3 separate regions of the Homo sapiens genome follow, and regions 1 and 2 are each linked to region 3. The links are contacts of gene promoters, found by promoter capture Hi-C in blood cells and fetal thymus (Javierre and others, 2016). All regions are on one chromosome and are shown on one strand. Each heading gives the region's core, a stretch centred on a gene start or on the middle of the fragment in contact. The rest is flanking DNA. Distances are from core to core; before and after follow the strand shown. Region 1 holds the start of LOC101926944 (a long non-coding RNA gene). Region 2 overlaps FGGY (FGGY carbohydrate kinase domain containing). Region 3 holds the start of FYB2 (FYN binding protein 2).

Region 1 (2,700 bases), core at 128-2,627, 3.0 Mb before region 3:
GTTCATATCTAGTGCCCCGAAAGCTACTAAAAGGAACTTCCCCACTGTCTTGCTGTTTGCACTACACTTATGAGAATGCCAATGACCGCACTTAGGGGACTGGTCCTCAATACTCCCAAAGCCACCACCCCAGAGGCCAGAGCAGAGGCTGGCACACTACAGCCTGCAGGCCACATTGCAGGACCACCTGTTTTTGTAAATAAGGCTTTATTAGAACACAGCTCTGCCCATTCATTCACATATTGTCTGTGACTGCCTTCTTGTTACAATGGCAGAGTTAAGCAGTAGCGAATGAGATCAAATAATATGAAAGGCCAAAAGATATTTACTATCTAGCCCTTTCCTAAAAAACATCTGCTGACTGTATAGCAGTGCAGCTTGTGTCTGGAGTATAAAGAGTTAAAAACATAGCCCCTCTAGCAGTAAATCTTCACTCTTTCTGAGCATTTTTTAAGTGTCGAAAGGGGACTATATACTAATAGCATCGCCAAGCATTCTTTTTATTTTGATTTTTATTTCATGAGACTTCAGCTTTTCCCGCCTCTCCTCTCCTAGTCGTAGGACACCACTGCCATGTAGTTTAAATGGGGCATCACATCGTCTATCTCCTACCACTGATATTTTTAAAATCTCAGCTCCACCTCAGCCCCAATTATCTTCTGACACTTATAGGAGGTGGTTTAATGCCACTTACCAGTGTGTGACCTTGAGCAAGTAATTTCATGTCTTGGGACCTCAGTTTCTTCTTCAATAGAACAGGATATTATTTACTCTTGGGGCTATGCAGATGTAATGAAATAATGAAAGTTCTTGGAACATAATTTGCATCCTAGAAAGGTGGTTATTATTATTGTTGCTGTTGATTAGTGTAAGGTAATGGTTAAGAACTTCAGCCGGACATCTTGGGTGATCTTGGGCGATCTTGGGCAAGTTATTTAATTGCTCTGTGCTTCGTTTTCCTTATCTGCAAAATATAAATAACAGTGCTGATCATTTCCGTTTGTTATGAAGATTAAGTGGGATCAGGCATAGACCAGAGCCTGCCCATGGTGAGCACTTATCCACTGTTAGCTACTATTATTATTAGTTATTCTTATTGGTATATTAACTGTTTATTCTTAAAACTAGAGTTGTGATTATAGTATGAGAAACAATATTTTTTAAACACTGAGTTAAGTTTTTGTACAAATGTAAAAGGGTTTTGGGGAGAGTAAAATAATCAGAAAAAAACGAAAAGAGTAACACATTGTTATCTCATTCTACACTTACAGTTGTAAAGGTTTATTTTTTAACCACTTCCTTACCAGCTCAATCACCTTGTAACAAAATCGACATTGTATTTATTTCCTGTAGATTCCATAACCTCCCAGAGTCTCTTTGTAAGTCTCTCTACAAAAAGAGCAGGTGAAATCAAGGCCAAATACGTGTTCCTGATATAAATAGCAGGAAGTCGATGAAATGTTTATTGTAAAAAGAGTAGGATTGAAACATATGCTTGAATACATATAAGCACAATATGTTCTCCAGCTCTATGTAGCACCTGTGTAGAACAGCTAAGCCATATGTTTCAGAAATTATACTTTAAAAATTACTATGTAGATGTAAAAAAGGAAAATGCACAATTTATACAAAAAATAAACATGTTTACTGTTAAAATAACTTCATGGTTCCTTCAAATCCTTTTTAATTGTAACAAGTTTTTATCTTGTAGTGTATGCAGAAACTTCTTACAAAACCATTAAAGTAAATAAACAGCTTAGAAGTATATTGTCAAAATGATATTAAAATATCTATACAAGGTTGAAATTTAAATCAGCACAACTTTAATAGAACTCATGACATTTAGTATTAAGAACTCATGTCGCAAAATAGCTAATGTTAGCTACACTATCCTTTAGTATTTGCTTGATCTTAAGGAAATAACTTTTTACTCTTTTTAGCAAAAGACCTAATAATATATTAATGTTGTCTGTGTTGTATGTATGGTTTAGGGTGAGGGTGTGCACAAGGAGGGGAAGTAAGTTGGAGAGGCGTGATATTCTTGGCCTGATATACATTACTAGGGAGTTTCCTACATGGAATACAGGATAGAGAAGGAAGACTTCAAAGTTAGAATGGATGGAAATACTAAATTTAAAAATATAACAAAGAAATGCATGATTGTATTATTAGTTAATAATTAATTATTAGTTAATAATTAGTTAATGTGACACTTGCTATCCCGTTAGTTTGACCCATGGTCTGGAGCTACAATTTAATTTAACTGAAGGGACAACTTTCAGTTGAAATTTCTTATATTTCCAAGTAGAGGTCTTTTTGAGCCTATTTCTAATGACTAGTTTAAACATTGATAATTAGCAACATTCATTCGTAAGGCAATAATTTCTATAGCAGTGAATATCATTTTAATTCTGTAATTAGATAACCAAAATTTTAATAATAGGAGCTATCAATTTGCTGAATAAACCTTCCAACAGATAATATGAAAGAAAAACATCTATACAACTCAGGTGAAAACATGATGATTTGGTTAATTAACCTTCGAAATACTGTGGTTGTTCCATTATGTGCAATAAAATGCTTTGTAAAAAACTTGTCTAAAGGAGTAAGTCTGGGAAATGCTTCACAGGTAATTTTTCTCTAGGAAGCTCACAATGCACATGAGTATATTACAAGATTAGTATAAGATATTCTGTAGTA
Region 2 (2,700 bases), core at 3-2,502, 2.9 Mb before region 3:
ACATTTCCAAGTGTTTCCCCTGACCATCTTTGCCACCTTACTGTGACTGATTGACTGATTTGCATGCCACTAATTTCCTTCTGCCACTTTGTATATTTACTGGTTTATGTGTTCGTTGTCTGCCTTCTCCACTCCTTGCCCTAACCGGAATGTAAGCTACACAGGGCAAGGACTTGTCTGTTTACTACTAAGTCTCGACACCTGGACTATTCATAAAACATATTGCCTCCCTTTCACGTGCCAAGCATAACACTCAATCTACATGGAATACAGAGAGGAAGATTGCATGGGCCTTTCATCAAAGAGCTCACTATAGAGTGGAAAAGACATTTACTGTGATCAAAATAGAGTGTGATAAATACTACGCTAGAAGCGGATAAACTTCTTTCAGTAGTTATTCAAGGGTTAGGTAACCTGATGGTTCTTTCATCTGCTAGCTTACACGAATTTCCACTCCTGCTAGGTTGCTCTATGGACTCTTCCACAAGGATAGCATGTGCATTCTGAACTAGACATCTAGCTTCCCAGCTCTCAATGGATGTGAATGTGCTGATTGGGAGATCAGAGATGCTAAGAGTAGCCAGCACAATGACAACAGAAAGAAATGGCAGCCTTAAGTAGGGAGGAGATTTTTTTTAATGAAGAAAAATTATTGACAAAGAAACCATGGAGAAAGAGGAAGACTAAAAGGGCTGTCTGGAGTCATTTTGTGGAGGGCCAAATGGTCAAACACATCTTAGTGAACATGCTGCCATTCCACTTAGCAGAGGTATGTTAAGAGCTCTGCTTACCCCAGAACAGTTTCCTTCAAAGACGAAGTCCTGATTCCCTTAGAGCAAGCCGGGGTATTGTTGAGATGGTCTCAGCAATCCCCATCATCAACCGTGCCACTCATTCTTATTTTGTCCTTTTCGTCTCTTCCTTGAGTTGTGCTCTGCTGTGCTTTAGGGAGGACCTTGCCTTCTATTGCCAGCTCTGAATCTTCAAACTGCCCTCAGGGAATGCTCCTCCTGGCTGTGCTTTGGCCCCACACTTGAGACAACATTCCAGGATCGCCCTCATGGGTGGGATCCAGGAAACTTCTATTATAGAAGGTACTCCATAAATGTTATTTTCCTTCCCACTGCAACAGATGTGCACATAAACGGCAGACATCAGGGAATTCTTCCCTCCTTTCTCCACATTACCTTTGCTTGTTTTAAAAATAAATTGAGAAGCAAACATCAGCAAGAGAGATTTCAATGGTTTAAAAAGAGGTTATGCTGTTTCTCAGAAAGTACAGATTTAAATGTTAAACTTAGCTCAGGTATCAGCTCTACTGAGATTTTTTTCTGACTCATCCCCGCTGCCTGCCTCCCACCTATATTGAGTTATGTGCTCCAACAGCAACTTCTGCTTCCGTCTATCATAGCGTTTATGACATGGCACCATATTTTTTTGTTAACAGATCAGCCTCCCCAACTAGACTGTGAGCGCCTTAAAGCAGGAATTGTTATAATTATTTTCACTGCCAAACTCGGCATCTGGCATATCGTATGCACTCAGGGAATGTCTACGGAATGAATGAACTTAAGGATAATACACGTGACGGAATGTTAAAATGGAAGTTTTGGCTGAGATCTAAAGATGACAGATATAAGATACCAAAGTGAACTGGAAACAGACCACCCTGAAGAATGTGCAAGAAGGGTGCCTGAGGACCCATTAATCAACTCTTAAACCTTTCATTGATGTGGAAGGTCAGACAGAGATGGATTTTTAGGAAAGAGCTGTTGGTTTACTGCACATCAGGCCTCCTTCCAGGGTGAAGTATGAAGAGATCCTCTCCCTTCAGGAGTCAGGAAGACACAGACCAGCAGAGAATCTGCTGCATGTCCCTGAGGTTGTGGCACATGGTGGCTTGTATGTGACTCCTGTCTGGAAGAGACAGGCTGGCTGACAGCTGCAGTGTAAAAGTGAAGTAGAGGTTACCCTGGGATCAACCAGCACTGCCAGAGTCTGTCCAGATCCAAAAGACAAAGGTTTCCCATAGACCCCAAGTGGCCCATGTATGAGAGAGCTGCCAGGGGTTCTCAGATCCTGTCCAACATGGCCACCTAACGAGGTGGAGCAGTCACCATAAAGAAGCATGAGGTTGGGCCGGGAGCAGTGGTTCATGCTTTTAATCCTGGCACTTTGGGAGGCCAAGGTGGGTGGATCACTTGAGGGCAGGAATTCAAGACCAGCCTGGCCAACATAGTGAAACCCCGTCTCTACTAAAAATACAAAATTAGCCAAGTATGGTGGCATGTGCCTGTGGTCCCACGGGGAGGGTGAGGCACAAGAATTGCTTGAACCTGGGAGGCAGAGGTTGCAGTGAATCGAGATTGCACCACTGCACTCCAGCACTCCAGCCTGGGAGACAGAGCAAGACTCTATCTCAAAACAAAACCAAACAAAAAAGAGACCAAAACAAACAAACAACAAAAAAAAAAGGAAAGGATTCCTGAGGAATTAAGAGAAGAGTAGTGAGCAATCTATGAGAATAGACAGGTGTTAACCAAGACAACAATATTTCAGGCGAGAGGTTTTCAGAGGCAGGGGGTCTCCCCAAAAATCTATGATGTGCCTTATGAGAATCAGAGCTAGCTGTAAACACCTATAAGGCTAAGAGAGCATGAAGCCCATTATGACAGTACTGATCAGATAAGAAATTTCCTA
Region 3 (2,700 bases), core at 69-2,568:
CCCTGGGCCAGAAGCATTGATGCAGTGTTTTGTCTGGGACTTGAATCCTGTATTTTTGATAGATTCCCAGGCAGCTCTGGTGATCAGCCAGGTTTGGGAATCACCTGTTAGAGGAAATGGCCCTCAGGCGGGGTCTCCTCACCTGTGCTCCACCCCGCCTCTCCCTGGTCAGGACAGGAGAAGATTTCTAAGAACTTGACAAAGCAAGAAAAGTCACACCGGTTACACATAAAGCAGGGCGCAGGCCACCCACTCTGCCCATCCCCAACCCCGGGAGAGCTGAAAGCCCCAAAACTGGCAACTGAGGTTTGGGTTTCCATCTCCAGCTCTGTCAGAAAAACAAACAAACAAAAATAACCCCAGCAAAATAAAATCACTTTAGAGTCAGCCAGATCTGGGTTCCAACCCTGGCTCTTCTAGTTACTACCTATGTGACCATGGGCAGGTGTTACCATCTCTCTGAGACTCAGTTTCCTCACTTTTTTTTTTTTTTTTGAGACGGAGTCTCACTCTGTCCCCCTGGAGTGCAGTGGCATGATCTCGGCTCACTGCAACGTCTGCCTCCCAGGTACAAGCAATTCTCCTGCCTCAGCCTCCCAAGTAGCTGGGATTACAGGCACCCACTACCACACCTGGCTAATTTTTTTTATATTTTTGGTAGAGACAGGGTTTCACCATGTTGGCCACGCTGGTCTCAAACTCCTGACCTCAAGTGATCCACACACCTCGACCTCCCAAAGTGCTGGGATTGCAGGTGTGAGCCACTGCACCCGGCCATTCTTCACCTTTTAAAATGGGAATCCAAATGCCTCAATAAACACCAGGCCAAAAACAGGGTGCTCCTTTATGTTAACTCCTTTTCTGGCCTCCACTAAATCCCCCTGTGGGCTTAGGCATGCTGTCCTGCTGGGCTTTGGTTTCCCTGACCGTGAGAAAGGGTTTGTGAAATTAAGTAGCCGTCTGCAGGGGCGGAGCTGGCAGAGGTTGTTACTAACGGGGATCACACTGTCCAGCCTGCATGGTCTGTACTAACAGGAGCCTGCCATCCCCATTCCTTCACAGCTCCTGCTGCCTGGGCACAAATGCCCTGGAGAGTGAGTGACTGTCAGACCAGCCGGAGGGGAGCAACGGGAAGAGCCGCTTGCTGAGAAGAGGTGGGCTTGGCAGGACTGCAGGTGGAGTACTCTCCCCAGTCCCCTGCAGGTGCTGGTCTAAGCCAAGCTGGGAGGATGGCGGCCGGCCCTGGCCCAGCCCCAGGCAAGGGAGGAGCCTCGGCCCAGATGGGGCAGGTGGGGAGCCTGGGCTCAGGTGTGTCCTGTGGGAAGTGATTGCTCCCTGGCTAGCAGAGACAGAGGAAAGCGGATTGTTGGCCCCAGGACCCAGCTCTGAGAGGCTGGGCTTGTTTCCCTGACTCTGCCTTGGAGGAAAGCAATGGAAGGGGTAAGGCTGTCTCAGTTTTGTTGCTGGCTTTCTGTGTGTCTTTTCTTGCAGGACAAGTTCCTCCCACTTGAGAGCCCTGGGGAAAAACTGCTTGTGTGTGCTGCCTCCTGGGCAGGAATAAACATGTCAGGTGTCAGCCAGTGCATTTCTGCTCACACTGGCTTTGCTCAGGGCGGGTGGGAGGGAAGAGGAGTGTGCCATGTCCTGTGCCACCTGGAGTGTGAGGGGACAGGAGGTGCTGAGGAATGACAGCATGTGGCCTAGCTCTACCCAGCCAGCTGGACTCCTGACCTATTCCCAGATCCTCCGTTGAAGCGCCCGCTGGCTTCTCTCTGTGTTTACTTGCCCTTGTGGACTGTATCTGGCCTCTGCAGTGATTAGCGGGCCTCCTGGTCAGAGAGCAGTGCTTGGTGCTAGGAAGCCGGCTGTGCATTGCTCTTTTGTGGCTTGTGGCTCTAGACCGGGTTCTGCTCCTTGTTAACTGTGTGGCCTGGGGCAAGTGTGTCCGTCATCCTGAGCCCTGGGTCCCTCACTCATGAAAGAGAATTACTGGTACAATAACTACTTTGTGAGACTATCAGAGGTGCTTGTATAAATAGAGATGTATGGAAAAGTATCCTGCCCTACGCCAGCATTCCCTGCCCCTTGGATGGCTGAGTGCTGTTGGCACAGTTGGAGACGTCTTGCCTGACTGACCACATCTTCCTTTTTCCTTCTCCAATTCTCCACTCTCCTCTATTTCCGTCTTCAGTAAGTCAGTTTCTTTTGATGTGCGTGTGCATGTGTGTGTGTGTGTGTGTGTGTGTGTGTGTGTGTGTGTGTGTGTTGCTTCCATACTTTTTATTATATATTTGGAGTCAAGTCATTTTCTCCCATGAATCATGTGGCTTCTCACCCACAAGTTTGGTTTTAAATCAGGGCAGAGGATCCATTTTAGCTTTTGCTGGTCAGGAAAAGCTCCCCTTTGTCTCAGGGCAAAGGGCATGTTTCTCTCTGTGGCAAATCACTCCAGTCCAAATAGCTGAGTTTTGGAAAGGGGTGAGCAGGGGCATGTTGGTATGACTTCATCTCCCTCCTCTGAGTTCTCCCCGCCACCCCCACCTCGACCATACCACTTAGCAATTTTTAAGAAACTCCTCCTTGACGGGAAAGTGCCAGGCTGAATAGATTTAGCGTGCTTGTAAGAAAAGGAAACTGACTTACATTTTCCCCATCTCTGATGGGCCAGGATCCGCACTGGCATCCATTATTTCAGTTTAT

The links. The method cuts DNA at HindIII sites, captures the fragments that hold promoters and counts their contacts. A CHiCAGO score of 5 or more calls a contact.
Region 1: a fragment that was not itself captured here is called in contact with the fragment with the promoter of FYB2 in region 3 in 2 of 17 cell types (naive B cells and total CD4 T cells); the score reaches 5.3 in naive B cells.
Region 2: a contact is called between a fragment that was not itself captured here and the fragment with the promoter of FYB2 in region 3, in 9 of 17 cell types (total CD4 T cells, naive B cells, non-activated CD4 T cells and 6 more). The highest score is 15.7, in total CD4 T cells.

What each region holds. Positions count from the first base shown.
Region 1 is chr1:59,771,032-59,773,731 of GRCh38, reverse strand. The region is part of intron 4 of LOC105378758 (a long non-coding RNA gene); the gene reads left to right. LOC101926944 (a long non-coding RNA gene) reads right to left here and starts at 937. Exons shown (of 3, transcript NR_110627.1): 1 at 695-937. The HindIII fragment of the contact is 9,709 bases long and covers 1-2,700 here.
Region 2 is chr1:59,754,155-59,756,854 of GRCh38, reverse strand. The region is part of intron 14 of FGGY (FGGY carbohydrate kinase domain containing); the gene reads right to left. Among named protein-coding and RNA genes, the nearest start is that of MIR4711, 22 kb to the right of the region's middle. The HindIII fragment of the contact is 5,194 bases long and covers 1-2,700 here.
Region 3 is chr1:56,818,022-56,820,721 of GRCh38, reverse strand. FYB2 (FYN binding protein 2) reads left to right here and starts at 1,318. Exons shown (of 20, transcript NM_001004303.5): 1 at 1,318-1,440. The coding sequence starts at 1,432. The HindIII fragment of the contact is 7,052 bases long and covers 1-2,700 here.